Regions from separate parts of the Homo sapiens genome. Here region 2 is linked to region 1. The links are contacts of gene promoters, found by promoter capture Hi-C in blood cells and fetal thymus (Javierre and others, 2016). All regions are on one chromosome and are shown on one strand. Each heading gives the region's core, a stretch centred on a gene start or on the middle of the fragment in contact. The rest is flanking DNA. Distances are from core to core; before and after follow the strand shown. Region 1 holds the start of RBM5-AS1 (RBM5 antisense RNA 1). Region 2 holds the start of IP6K1 (inositol hexakisphosphate kinase 1).

What was found. The method cuts DNA at HindIII sites, captures the fragments that hold promoters and counts their contacts. A CHiCAGO score of 5 or more calls a contact.
Region 2: a contact is called between the fragment with the promoter of IP6K1 here and a fragment that was not itself captured in region 1, in 4 of 17 cell types (endothelial precursors, erythroblasts, naive B cells and 1 more). The highest score is 6.8, in endothelial precursors.

The regions. Positions count from the first base shown.
Region 1 is chr3:50,095,059-50,102,103 of GRCh38, forward strand. RBM5 (RNA binding motif protein 5) reads left to right here. Exons shown (of 25, transcript NM_005778.4): 5 at 4,924-4,993; 6 at 5,474-5,547. RBM5-AS1 (RBM5 antisense RNA 1) reads right to left here and starts at 5,930. Exons shown (of 1, transcript NR_045388.1): 1 at 4,545-5,930. RefSeq lists a silencer at 5,385-5,585. The HindIII fragment of the contact is 203 bases long and covers 5,662-5,864 here.
Region 2 is chr3:49,782,894-49,789,398 of GRCh38, forward strand. It overlaps IP6K1 (inositol hexakisphosphate kinase 1), which reads right to left and starts at 3,649. Exons shown (of 6, transcript NM_153273.4): 1 at 3,461-3,649. RefSeq lists silencers at 3,263-3,612, 4,348-4,512, 5,293-5,502 and enhancers at 3,327-4,016, 4,103-4,172. The HindIII fragment of the contact is 18,469 bases long and covers 1-6,505 here.

The sequences.
Region 1 (7,045 bases), core at 4,513-7,012:
GTGGTGGTGCATACCTGTAGTCCCAGCTACTTGGGGAGGTGCTGAGACAGGAGAATGGCTTGAACCTGGGAGGCGGAGTTTACAATGAGCCAAGATCACGCCATTGCACTCCAGCCTGGGTGACAGAACAAGACCCTGTCTCAAAAACAAAAAGAAGTAAATTACCATATTTAGGCTTTGAAGCTCAATGTATGAGTTTTCTAAATGTCTTTAACCACAGGGAGCAGGTCTTCTGTCTTCATTAGCTCCTAGAAGATAATCAATATATTTTTATTGAATTAGTTACTTATTAGATGAGGATGATTGGTAAATACCTAATTTTCTTTATAATCTGGCCACCCTTTTATTTGTTGAAAATTGAACTACCCATTTGAAACCTCAGAAAAGCTTGTTAAAAAGGACGGCTCATTCAGACTGGCCAATTAGAGTCTTAGTGTACTTGGCACTGCCTGATTTCCAGCAGCATCTCTGGTCCTCACCCTTCCTTCCAGCCACACCCTACTTTCCACATCCTGGACTTTGGACATGTCCATTGCTCTACTGTTGTGCCTTTTTCTGCTTGGAGACGCCTGTATGTAAAGCCTGATCTATCGGGCAGAGCTTCTTCTTCGTTATTCTCTTCCTAAGGCACTGTATTCATGACTTTTGTGTAGCACCTTTACTGTAGCCATCAACACACATGTCTCATCTCTACCACAAGATCTCTGAAAATAGGCCTCTGTGTGAACTAGTCACCTCTGTGTCCCCAACCCTTGAACACAGTATGTTACTCAGCCAGTGCTCTTGGTAAAAATGAATGTGAGGTTTTAAAACAGCAGTGTGCCAGTATTTGTTTTCTTGGAGTAATCAAAGTAATATTCTGACTAATGTTTAGTTGAATTTTGGATAAAGCTCAAAATAAGCATTGGATTCCCGTAGCTTTGGGTTTCTAAACCCTGGAAGTAATGAATGTGACAAATGTGAGACAGGATATTAGAGTTAATAGTGGGTAATCATTCCATTATTTGTGATCCACTGCACATCTGCTACACTGTACATGTTAGATGCTACAGTGACACAGAGCTATGGATCTTGCCTCAAAAAAGCTTATGGATGAGTAGCTAAGGTCAGCAGATAATGGTGACAATGCAGAATAGAAAGGGGTCAGAGGCCGAGTATGGTAACTCATGCCTGTAATCCCAGCACTTCGGGAGGCCAAGGTGAAAAGAGTGCTTGAGCCCAGGAGTTCAAGTCCAACCTGGACAACATGGTAAGACGCATCTCTCCAAAAAAAAAAAAAAATAGCCAGTCTTAATGGCGCTTGTCTGTGGTCCCAGTTACTTGGGAGACTGAGGCAGGAAGATCACTTGAGCCTAGGAGGTCAAGGGTACAGTGAGTTGTGTTCACGCCACTGCACTCCAGCCTGAGCGACAGAGCAAGACCCTGTCTCAAAAAGAGGGTCATGTCGGAAAAGGTCCTATTGAAAGAGGTCTGCCTAAGAGCTCTTGAAGGTTATTTAAAGGAAATTGTTACTAGTGGAGGGTAAGGAATCTTCTATTTTTATTTTTGTGAGACAGGGCCTTACTCTGTCGCATAGGCTGGAGTGCAATCGCGTGATTGTGGCTCACAGCAGCCTCCAACTTTTGGGGCTCAGGCAATCCACCAGCCTCAGCCTCCCAAGTAGCTGGGATTACAGGCATGTGTCACCACTCCGAGCTAATTTTTTTTTTTATCGTTTGTTTTTTTTTTTGTAGAGACAAGGTCTCTCTTTATTGCCTAGACTGGTCTTGAACTCTTGTCTTCAATCAATCCTCCCGCCTGGGTCTCCCAAAGTGCTAGGATTATAGGCGTGGAAAACTAAGGGAATGGTGTGGTAGATGGGCCCTTCAGGCGGAGGGGTATCACATGAGCAGGGAATAGAAAGGTACTGAATCTAGATAAGGCCTAGCAATCGGCTTGATTTGGCTGGAGTCAGAGGCTTTTGGCAGGAGAGGGATGAGTGGCAAAGTGCTATTGTGGCTAGGGGCTAGAGTTCTCAAAAGTCTAGCTAAGCCTAAAAGAATATTACTGAGGGTTGGCCAGGTGCGGTGGCTCACGCCTGTAATCCCAGCACTTTAGGATTCTGAGGCAGGCGGATCACAAGGTCAGGAGATCGAGACCATCCTGGCTAGCACGGTGAAACCCTGTCTCTACTAAAACTACAAAAAAATTAGCCAGCCGTGGTGGCGGGCGCCTGTAGTCCCAGTTACTCAGGAGGCTGAGGCAGGAGAATGGCATGAATCTGAGAGGCGGAGCTTGCAGTGAGCCGAGATCGTGCCATTGCACTCCAGCCTGGGCGACAGAGCAAGACTGTCTCAAAAAAAAAAAAAAAGAAACTGCTACAAGTATTGATTTGAGTGTTAGAAATTTTAATGAGTGGTTGAATTCACAGGTGTGATACCTGAGGATAATGAGGATTGGCTGTGTGTAGTCTTGCAGCCGTTGCACCTAGTTATGGAAAGTAGAGGCCAGTGAGAATCTTGTTTCCACAAATTTCACCCTGTTTTTTTTTTCATGGTAGTATTCATGCCTGATATTATTGATGAAGAGACTAGTATATTTTTGTGGCCTTTTGGAAAAAGGAGTTGGTCTGACATTGGAACAAGCCTACCAGCCAGAATACTTTATTCTAGCCCCAATTAATGTTTGATTTATTAGGAGCCTAAGAATGTGATGAACTTTGAAAATTTTTACCAATAATTTAACTGTAAGAAAAGTATGATCCATTAAAAATGTTTACCTGGCCTGGTGCGGTGGCTCACGCCTGTAATCCCAGCACTTTGGGAGGCCAAGGTGGGTGGATTACCTGAGCCCAAGAGATGGAGACCAGCCTGGGCAACATGGTGAAACCCCTCTCTACTAAAATATAAAATATTAGCTGGGTGTGGCGACATGCGCCTGTAGTCCCAGCTACTCTTGAGGCTGAGGCAGAATTGCTTGAACCCAGGAGGCGGAGGTTGCAGTGAGCCGAGATCATGCCATTGCTCTCCAGCCTGGGCAACAGAGTGAGACTCCATCTCAAAAAAATTTAAAAAAAAGTTTATCATCAGGCTCTTCATTTTTTGGCTGTTGATTTTTTTCCTTATTTTGAGAGTAGGCCTCAAAGAGCAGGAAGGCTATTCTTGATTAGGCGTACTTCAGGGCACAGTGACGCATCCACTGCCTCTTTTAAATCTCATCTGAGTCCTTATTTTTATTTTTTTATTTTTTTAAAGATAGGGTTGCACTTTGTCACCCAGGCTGGAGTGCAGTGGTGCAATAGCCCATTGTAACCTCGAACTCCTGGGCTTAAACAGTCCTCCCACCTCAGCCTCCCAGGTAACTAGGACTACAGGTGTATACCATCATGCTTGGGTAATTTTTATTTTATTTTATTATTTTTTTTTGAGACGGAGTCTCACTCTTGCCCAGGCTGGAGTGCAGTGGCGCGATCTCGGCTCACTGCAACCTCCGCCTCCCGGGGTCAAGCGATTCTCTTGCCTCAGCCTCCCAAGTAGCTAGGACTACAGGCACGTGCCACCACGTCTGGCTGATTTTTTGTATTTTTAGTAGAGACGGGATTTCACTGTGTTAGCCAGGATGGTCTCCATCTCTTGACCTCGTGATCCACCTGCCTTGGCCCCCCAAAGTGCTGGAATTACAGGCGTGAGCCACTATGCGAGGCCTAATTTTTAAAATTTTTGTATACAGATGGGGTCTTACTGTGTTCCCCAGGCTGGTCTCACACTCCTGTGCTCAAGCGCTCATCTTGCCTCATCTTCCCAAAGCGCTAGGATTATAGGCTTGAGCCACTGTACTATCCTGCAGAACAAAGGACAGGGAGATTAGACTAAAGGATGGAGGCTTGAGACATCATACCACAAGCAAGGATGTGTATCATAACAGAAATTAATTGCGGCCAGGCATTGTGGCTCACTCCTGTAATCCTAGCACTTTGGGAGGCCAAGGTGGCCGGATCGCTTGAGCCCAGGAGTTCCAGACCAGCCTGGGCAACGTGGCAAAACTCTGTCTCTACAAAAAATACAAAAATTAACCAGGTGTGGTGGTGTGCATTTGTAGTCCCAGCTACTTAGGAGGCTGAGGTGGGAGGATCACTTGAGTCCAGGAAGGCAGAGGTTGCAGTGAGCTGAGATCACACCAGTGCACTTCAGCCTGGGTGTCAGAGCTAGGCCCTGTCTCAAAAAAAAAAAAGGAAAAATTAATTACACCTGAGGGAAATTCCCATGCAACATTTAATGAATGCCTTCAGTGCTGTTATAATGCATTAATTTCTATGAGAAATGTTCTCTCTTTTTTGTGCCTTTTAGGAAAATTGCATTTTGGTGATAGAAGATAAAAACTTGGCTAATTAGGCCAGGCATGGTGGGTCATGCATGTAATGATATGGGAGGCTGGCATATCACTTGAGGCCAGGAGTTCGAGACTAGCCTGTCCAACACAGTGAAACCCCGTCTCTACTAAAAATACAAAAATTAGCTGGATGTGGTGGTGGATGCCTGTAATCCCAGCTACCTGGGAGGCTGAGGCAGAAGAATCGCTTGAATCCAGGAGGTGGAGGTTGAAGTGAGCCGAGATCACGTCACTGTACTCCAGCCTGGGTGACAGAGCGAGACTCCGTCTCAAAAAAAAAAAAAAATCAGTCACGCATGGTGGTGCACACCTATAATCCCAGCTACTCGGGAGGCTGAGGCAGGAGAATTGCTTGAACCCAGGAGGTGGTGGTTGCAGTGAGCTGAGATCATGCCACTGCACTCCAGCCTGGGCAATCAAGTGAGTGAGAGACAGAGACTCCCATCTTAAAAAAAAAAAAAACTTGGCTAATTAAACAGTTGATGTAATTCCTATTCCATGGGGAATAGTGTGTGGCAAAAGCTTTAACTGTAAATAATGTAAAACCCTGTGCAGATTCGAGAAATGATGGAGTCCTTCGAAGGCCCTCAGCCTGCGGATGTGAGGCTGATGAAGAGGAAAACAGGTGAGAGCTTGCTTAGTTCCTGATATTATTGTTCTCTTCCCCATTCCCACCTCAGTCCCTAAAGAACATCCTGATTCCCCCAGTCTTCAAGCACATGAATTCAGAATGAAAGGTTTGCCATGGCTAAGGAATGTGACTCTTTGAAAACCATGTTAGCATCTGAGGAACTTTTTTAAACTTTGTTTTAGGGACTTTTTTTTCCTTAGGTAAGTAATGATTTATAAACTCCTTTTTTTTTTTGACTATAGTCGGTTGCATGGTTACTTTAAGCGTGGAATCAAATGGAGTGGCATTTAGTTCAGGCGGCTTGTTCCTTGCCATGGCAAAGTATCAAGAAGATCCCCAAGTCAAGTCACATTTGTAAAGCTGCTTCCCAATTGGCTTTGTCACGCAGTGTTGAAGCAGTGGGAGAGAGATTCACCTGTTATAAAGGAACTGACTAACACAAGTATCCCGTCTATATCTGAATGCTGTCTCTAGGTGTAAGCCGTGGTTTCGCCTTCGTGGAGTTTTATCACTTGCAAGATGCTACCAGCTGGATGGAAGCCAATCAGGTTGCTTCACTCACCAAGTCTAGATATTCATGAAAATGGAACAAGTCTGTACAATTTTAAAAAAAGGTTGAAGGAGTGGTTTGTTCCAAAGGAGTGACTTTTTTTTAAAAAAAAAGCTTTGTATATATTAAAATTGATGTTACTAGAATAAGTACAGTACCAAGGACTTCATTATAGAATTTGTTCTGCCTTTAAACATGGCTACCTACCTGGCAGGGCTTTGTTAACTACTGAATACCTGTCTGGTAATCACTAAAACATCTTAATGTTTCCCTTTTTTCTAGTTTGTTATATTCCTATTATGTCCATTGAGAGTAAGCTTAGTATATCAAACTCTCCATTTGACAGTGAAGAGAACATAGTGAAAGTCTGTGGCGGCATTTTTATAAGTAATTCCTTATTTCTGCCTGAAGACCACAAAGCCTCCTGGAGGCGTAACTGCTCAGACCGGTCTTCAGGGAATATTTAAGGACTTAGTGGAATTTATGAACAATAAGTCTGATGAGATTAGCCTGGGAGTGGTGTCCTGCAGCTGTCTAATCTAGTTAGAGTGGCATTAACATTCTAATCTCCTTGAGAATGCCTTTTATAGTCTGTTCAAAGCAAGTCATTGATGGTTCTTCGAGGTAGTGTTAACTGAAGTGTTCTTCAGTTTGTCAAGATAATGTTCAGTGCTTGGCACTTAAATAACATTTTTTGCAAGAACTCCAAGGCACATTATTGAATGCCTTTAACCAAGTGCATTCTGGGAAGTTTGCTTGACTCATTATCTTGCTTTTCTGCAGCATTCTGTGATTTGAGTCATCCATGAATCCATGAATAAAAGTTACATTCTTTGATTGGTAATATTGCCATTTATAACAAGACTCACTAATGAGGGTATCACTTTGACTGACTGATTTGTTAAAGTTTTTAAGCCTCTCATTTTCCTAACCCAGAAATCACAGCCTGATTTTATTAAAAGTAGAGCTTCATTCATTTCATACCATAGATACCATCCTAGTAAATCCAGAACATATACAAGGTTCATGTGAGTCTGCTTTCTTGACATGATAGCATTGTTTGATGCAGTGGATATGTCAGAATGACTAACCTAGGAGTTTAAAACTCCTAAGAAACTAAAACCTGTAAGACATTTAAAAGTCTCCACAATTTTAATGTATACAAAGCTATGTTACTGTGTAACACATTACAGTTCAAATTCACTCCAGAAATAAAAGGCCAGTAGGATTAGGGACTCACTGGTAGTTTGGAGTCTCCCAGCACACATCCCTCCTAGTGGGATGATCTATTCACATATCTCCCAGCTTTTTTATTTTTGCTTCTGTATATCACAGTGAGTGGATGGCCCTTCAGCTTTTTCTCTCCTGGCCAGACATGCAGTCTTGCCTTTAGATATCGCAGAGACAAAATTCACAGCATGTCTTAAATCTTCCAGGATTTGCAAGAACCAAATTGCTCAACAGTATGTATGTTTAGAGGGGTTAGACTCCTTTTT
Region 2 (6,505 bases), core at 2,399-4,898, 310 kb before region 1:
GAGGTCAGGAGTTTGAGACCAGCCTGGCCAACATGGCAAAACCCCGGCTCTACTAAAAAAAAAAAAAAAAAAAAAAATTAGCCAGGCGTGCTGGCGCACTCCTGTAGTCCCAGCTACTCGGGAGGCTGAGGCAGGAGTATCACTTGAACCCAGGAGGCGGAAGTTGCAGTGAGACAAGATCATGCCACTGCATTCCAGCCTGGGCGACAGAGTGAGACTCTGTCTCAAAAAAAAAAAAAGGCCAGGCATGGTGGCTCATGCCTGTAATCCTAGCATTTTGGGAGGCCAAGACAGGAGGATCACTTGAGACTAGGAGTTCAAGCCCAGTCTGGGCAACTGAGACCCCATCTCTACATAAGTAATTTTTAAAAATGCAAATGACAGCCAGTGTGGTGTCTCACCCCTGTAATCCCAGGCCAAGGCTGAGGCAGGTGGATCACCTGTCAGGAGTGACCAGCCTGGCCAACATGGTGAAACCCTGTCTCAGAAAAAAAAAAAAAGCAGGGGCTTGGGACAATTTTGAAAAGCTAATATTTTTGCTGGGTGCAGTAGCTCTCGCCTGTAATCCCAGCACTTTGGGAGGCCGAGGTAGACGGATCATGAGGTCAGGAGATCGAGACCATCCTGGCTAACACGGTGAAACCCCGTCTCTCCTAAAAATACAAAAAAATTGGCCGGGCATGGTGGCAGGTGCCTATAGTCCCAGCTATTTGGGAAGCTGAGGCAGGAGAATGGCGTGAACCCAGGAGGTGGAGCTTGCAGTAAGCCAAGACCATGCCACTGCACTCCAGCCAGCGCAACCGAGCGAGATTCCGTCTCAAAAAAAAAAAAAAAGAAAGAAAGAAAAGCTAATATTTTAATATCCCCCTCCTTTCAAGAACTGCCCAAGGAACTGGTCTTACCAAGATTATAATGAACTAAAGATTCAAAAAATGGCCCTGAAGGACAATGAAATAAATAACTAAAGACTACTCAACTTCTCCCTTGCCTCACAAGTGCAGTATAAACTCAGTCGAACAGCAACAAGCTGCCAGCGTCCTCTGGGTTCAGCACCTGCTTTCCTAAAGGATCTCCTGACCAAGGAGCTGGTTTCTTTCAAAATTATTATTTTATTTATTATTTATTTATTTATTTATTTTTGGAGACTGAGTCTCACTCTGTCACCCAGGCTGGAGTGCAGTGGCGCGATCTCAGCTCACTGCAACCTCCGCTTTCCGGGTTCAGGTGATTCTCCTGCCTCAGCCTCCATGCACCACCACGCCCAGCTAATTTTTGTATTTTTAGTAGACATGGGATTTTGCCATTTTGGATAGGCTAATCTCTTAACTACTGACCTCAGGTGATCCGCCCGCCTCAGCCTCCCAAAGTGCTGGGATTACAGACATGAGCTACCGCACCTGGCCTCTTTCAAAATTATACATTCAGAGGTGACAAGATCCTGATAGAAGTGCACAAAGTAGGCTAGGCGCGTGACCAGGCACAGTGGCTCACGCCTGTAATCCCAGCACTTTGGGAGGCCAAGGCAGGCGGATCAGGAGGTCAGGAGTTCGAGATCAGCCTGAACAACATGGTGAAACCAGGTCTCTACTAAAAATACAGAAATTAGCCGGGCATGGTGGCACGCACCTGTAATCCCAGCTACTTGGGAGGCTGGGGCAGGAGACTTGCTTGAACCCAGGAGGCAGAGGTTGCAGTCAGCTGAGATTGTGCCATTGCACTCCAGCCTGGGTGAGAGAACGAGACTTCGTCTCAGAAAAAAAAAAAAAAAGTAGGCTTGGCGCGGTGGCTCATGCCTGTAATCCCAACAATTTGGGAGGCGGAGGCGGGTTGATCATGAGGTCAGGAGTTCGAGACCAGTCTGGCCAACATAGTGAAACCCCGTCTCTACTAAAAATACAAAAATTAGCCAGGTGTGGTGGCACGTGCCTGTAGTCCCAGCTACTCGGGAGGCTGAGGCAGGAAAATTGCTTGAACCAGGGAGTCAGAGGTTGCAGTGAGCCGAGATGGCACCACTGTACTCCAGCCTGGCAACGGAGCAAGACTCCATCTCAAAAAAACAAAACAAAACAAAACAAAACAAAAAGTGCACAAAGTATTGTCGCTTGACTTCTTAGTCATCTCATGCAGGCATATTCTATGACCACATACAAGAAGACTGTACAAAGAACCAAAGAGGCCACAGGTCAAGAGAAATGTGTTTTGGAGCAATGAGAACTCTTCCTAGACCTGCACACTCTACTGAGGATCTCCAACTTGCCCAAATTCACAGGAAAGGGGCTTGAAGGTGTTTTCACTGAGCAAGATAATTTTAGTACTGTTAAAAGTTAATTTGCGCCGGGCATAGTGGCTCACACTTGTAACCCCAGCACTTTGGGAGGCCAAGGGGGGTGGATCACGAGGTCAGGAGTTCGAGACCAGCCTGGCCAACATGGTGAAACCCCGTCTCTATTAAAAATACAAAAATTAGCCGGGCATGGTGGCGCGTGTCTGTAGTCCTACCTACTCGGGAGGCTGAGGCAGGATAATCGCTTGAACCCGGGAGGTGGAGGCTGTGGTGAGCCGAGATCGCGCCACTGCACTCCGGCCTGGGCAACAGAGCGAGAGACTCTGTCTCAAAAGAAAAAAAAGAAAAAAAACAGTTAATTTGCCAGTTCCATATCATCCACAACAAAAACAAGTTTCTTTTTCCGATTCTAAGACACTCCTACGTTTCCTTTGTCTCCTATGGCGAGCATCCCTTTAGGAGATAAAATCAAGTCATCACCATAATACTCACTTTCTCCTAAAGCAAAAAGAGGAAGACATTACCACTCTCCAAAAAGTGGTGGTGAAGAACCAAAGAAATTATGTTCCAAAATAAAACTCAGCCATTATGGACATTTAACCAGGTTCTTTGCGAGGAAAACGGTGAGCTTCGAGGTACACGTGAGGTTCCGAACGGGTCTCAGGAAGCAGCAGCCAGGCAGAGGGTCCCCCTTGCCATAATCATAGGGCCGTGACACCGGCCTGCCTGGCTCGCGGGGGCTTTGGCTTGCTTCGTCTAGTCTTAGCATCCAGCGTCCTGAAAATCACTCGCAGGAACGCTATCTAAGAAAGAGGTAAGTCTATTTCTCAGCCAGGAGCAACATAACTCCCAGGAGAGCATCAGGGTGGCACCGGACACACTTTAGCGCTCCGGATCAGCGGAGTCCAGAGCTTCGGTCAGAGAAGCTGGTTTCCCGCTACTAGCCGGCCAACCCTCAGGCACTGGCGCTCTCCGTCCTCCACACCGGCTGTCCCCCCGGCTTCGGTGCCAGCATCTGGGAGGCTCGGCGGGCGGCCGGTCAGGACGCTCGAGCGATGTTCCAGTGATGGCCCCACCGGAGCCCCGACCCCACACGCGCCCACTCCAACCCCGCGCCCGCCACCGCCCTCCCCGCGGGCGTCAGGCCGGTCTATCGGCCCGGCTCCTGTCACTCACCTGCCCGGCCCGGGCACCGAGCGCCCACGGCTCCCTACGGGAGCTGGGCCCCCCGGGCCTCCAGGTTTCGGCCCGCCCCCTGGCAGGCAGCACAGGTGGCTGAGCACCGCTACAGCGGCCTCTCACCGGCCGCTTGGTCCAGCTCCCGGCGCTGCCCACTGGGTACGGATCAACAACAAGATGGCGGCTAGCCGAGGGGGCGGGGGCCGGGCGTCATAGTAACCAGGACTGCAAAGAACCCGCCCCCGAGGGGGTGCTATCCCCAATCAACAGTCTTTTTGCTCGTCGCCAGGGGAAGTGCTTCCTGCTGACAGGTCAGCTCACGTGTCAGTCAGAGTCTGCCTCTCAGGGCCTCTGCCGAAAGCGTGGGGCACGTGACTGTGACGGCATGGGTTGGCGCATGCGCTTCGTTCCCGGAGTGGCTGGCGGCGGAGTTTTCGCTGGCTACTACGAGGCCGGAGCGCCCTTGGCCTCTCTGCGTCCCTGGCCCTCGTGCGGTACCGGCGGCGTCTTGTCATACACTTGCGCACACACAGGGAATCTCAGCGGTGTGCTATTCGTTTTTTTGTCCCCCACTCTGGGAGAAGGGGGGTGCAGCCCCCAGTTCACTCTGGAGAGGAAACTGAGGCTCAGAGAGGGGAGGCCGAGCCAAGGTCACGCCACCTCTAGAAATGGAGGTGCTGGGTCTCGCACCTCCTCCTGCTGGTTTCAGAGTGTGAGGAGCCTCTATCCCAGCTTCCCACGCTTTGTCCCTTACTAGCCTCGAGGTACCGCAGTCTGTGCTGCCACAGCAGCCTCTGGCTCATTGCCCATGCTTTCCTGCCTGAGGTTTAGAGCCTAGCACAAGTCCTGACACACAGCGGGCACTCCCTTTTCTCTTCCCTAGAGCATCTTGTCTTGAGATCCTGTGACAGCATCTTTTGCCCTGGACTGTCATGACCGGCCTCCCAAGCAGACTAATGGTCCCAGGAAGATGGTCACACCTTGCTCCCCATACAGAACACCTAACTCTGGGCTTGGCTTCAGGCTTAGAACAACAGATGAAGTTACGTGGCCTGGGCCCACACCCAAATGCCCCAACTAGCTAACTCTGACTTTTGAGCCTTAGCCTCTCTTTAGCTTTGGTTGTCCCATCTGTAAAATGAAGATAAAAGTGGAGCTTCTCAGAGGAAGATTTAATGAGCCCTCAGAGCAGGGGAAGAACTCAGGAAAAATCTGCCTACAACCACTTCCTGGAACAACCTGCTTCCAAGTTGCTGTTCCTGAGGCGTGCCTTAAAACACTAACTTTGGTGGAAGCCCCATGAAGCGTTTTTGTTTTGCTTTGTTTTGTTCCCACAGAAGGCTTTCAGCTTCTTCCTGGCCCTGGGATACCATAACTGGTTCAGAAGGGGAGGTCCTCCTAGCTAGGCGCAGTGGCTCATGCCTGTAATCCAGCACTTTGGGAGGCCAAAGAAGGTGGATCACTTGAGGTCAGAGGTTCGAGACCAGCCTGGCCAAAATGGTGAAACCCTGTCCCTACTAAAAATACAAAAATTAGCTGGACGTGATGGCAGGTGCCTGTAATCCCAGCTACTCAGGAGGTTGAGGCAGGAGGATCACTTGAACCTGGGAGGCAGAGGTTCAGTGAGCTGAGATCACGCCACCACACTCTAGCCTGGGTGACAGAGCAAAATTCTGTCTCAAAAAAAAAAAAGGGAGGTTCTCCAGTACCCTGAGGGGGTTCAGGCCCACAGACTCAACAGACGAGTAAAGACTGTGATAACTTGGATTTACCACAGTAAGGTCCTCTTGGAGAGCTGGCAGAAGCCTGAGACCTGATGTCAGGTTGGGCATGGAGAGTGGGCCAACACTGCATCCAGCAAGACCTGCCCACCAGCAGATTGCTGCAGGCCACTTGGCTACATGCAATAGCTCAGGTCAACACAGGGAGATGTGAGAGCAGAGGAACCAGAAGAAACAGATCAGGAAGAAAAGCCAACAACCCTCAAAAGGGGGATTCTGCTAATCCTCCAGGACCAGCCATGCCACAGGATTCTCAAGTCTGCATCACCCCTCACCGCAGTGCAAAAGCTCCAGATCCTTCCCAAGAAAACCTCCACATACAGTTGGCAAATTGCCCTGAAGTTTGATGGGACCCTCAAAAAGCAACAGTGGTATAACTACTGTGGATAACAGTTCGGAGGTTCCTCAGAAAACTAAAAATACAGCTACCACATGATCCAGCAATCCCACTGCTGGGTATGTACCCAAAGGAAAGGAAATCAGTATATCAAAAAGATATCTGCACTTCCATGTTTGCTGCAGTGCCATTCACAATAGCCAAGATTTGGAAGCAACCTAAGTGTCCATCAACAGGTGAATGGATAAAGAAAATATGGTACATATGGGCCGGGTGCGGTGGCTCACGCCTGTAATCCCAGCACTTTGGGAGGCCGAGGCGGGCGGATCATGAGGTCAGGAGATGGAGACCATCCTGGCTAACACGGTGAAACCCCATCTCTACTAAAAATACAAAAAATTAGCCGGGCGTGGTGGCAAGCGCCTGTAGTCCCAGCTACTCAGGAGGCTGAGGCAGGAGAATGGCGTGAACCCAGAAGGCGGAACTTGCAGTGAGCCGAGATCACGCCACTGTGCTCCAGCCTGGGCAACAGAGCGAGACTCCATCTCAAAAAAAAAAAAAAGAAAAGAAAATATGGTACATATGCAGAATGGAATATTATTCAGCCATTAAAAAGAATGAGATTGTGAGATTGGCTGGTGCGGAGGCTCATGCCTGTAATCCCAGCACTTTGGGAGGCTGAGGCAGGAGGATCACCTGAGGTCAGGAGTTCAAGACCAGCCTGGCCAACATAGGAAAACTCCATCTCTACTAAAAATAAAAAATAAAAAAATTAGCCGGCATGGTGGTGCACACCTGTGGTCCCAGCTACTCAGGAGACTGAGGCACGAGAATTGCTTGATCATGAGAGGCGGAGGTTGCAGTGAGCCAAGATCGTGCCACTGTACTCCAGCCTGGGTGACAAAGTAAGACTACATCTCAAAA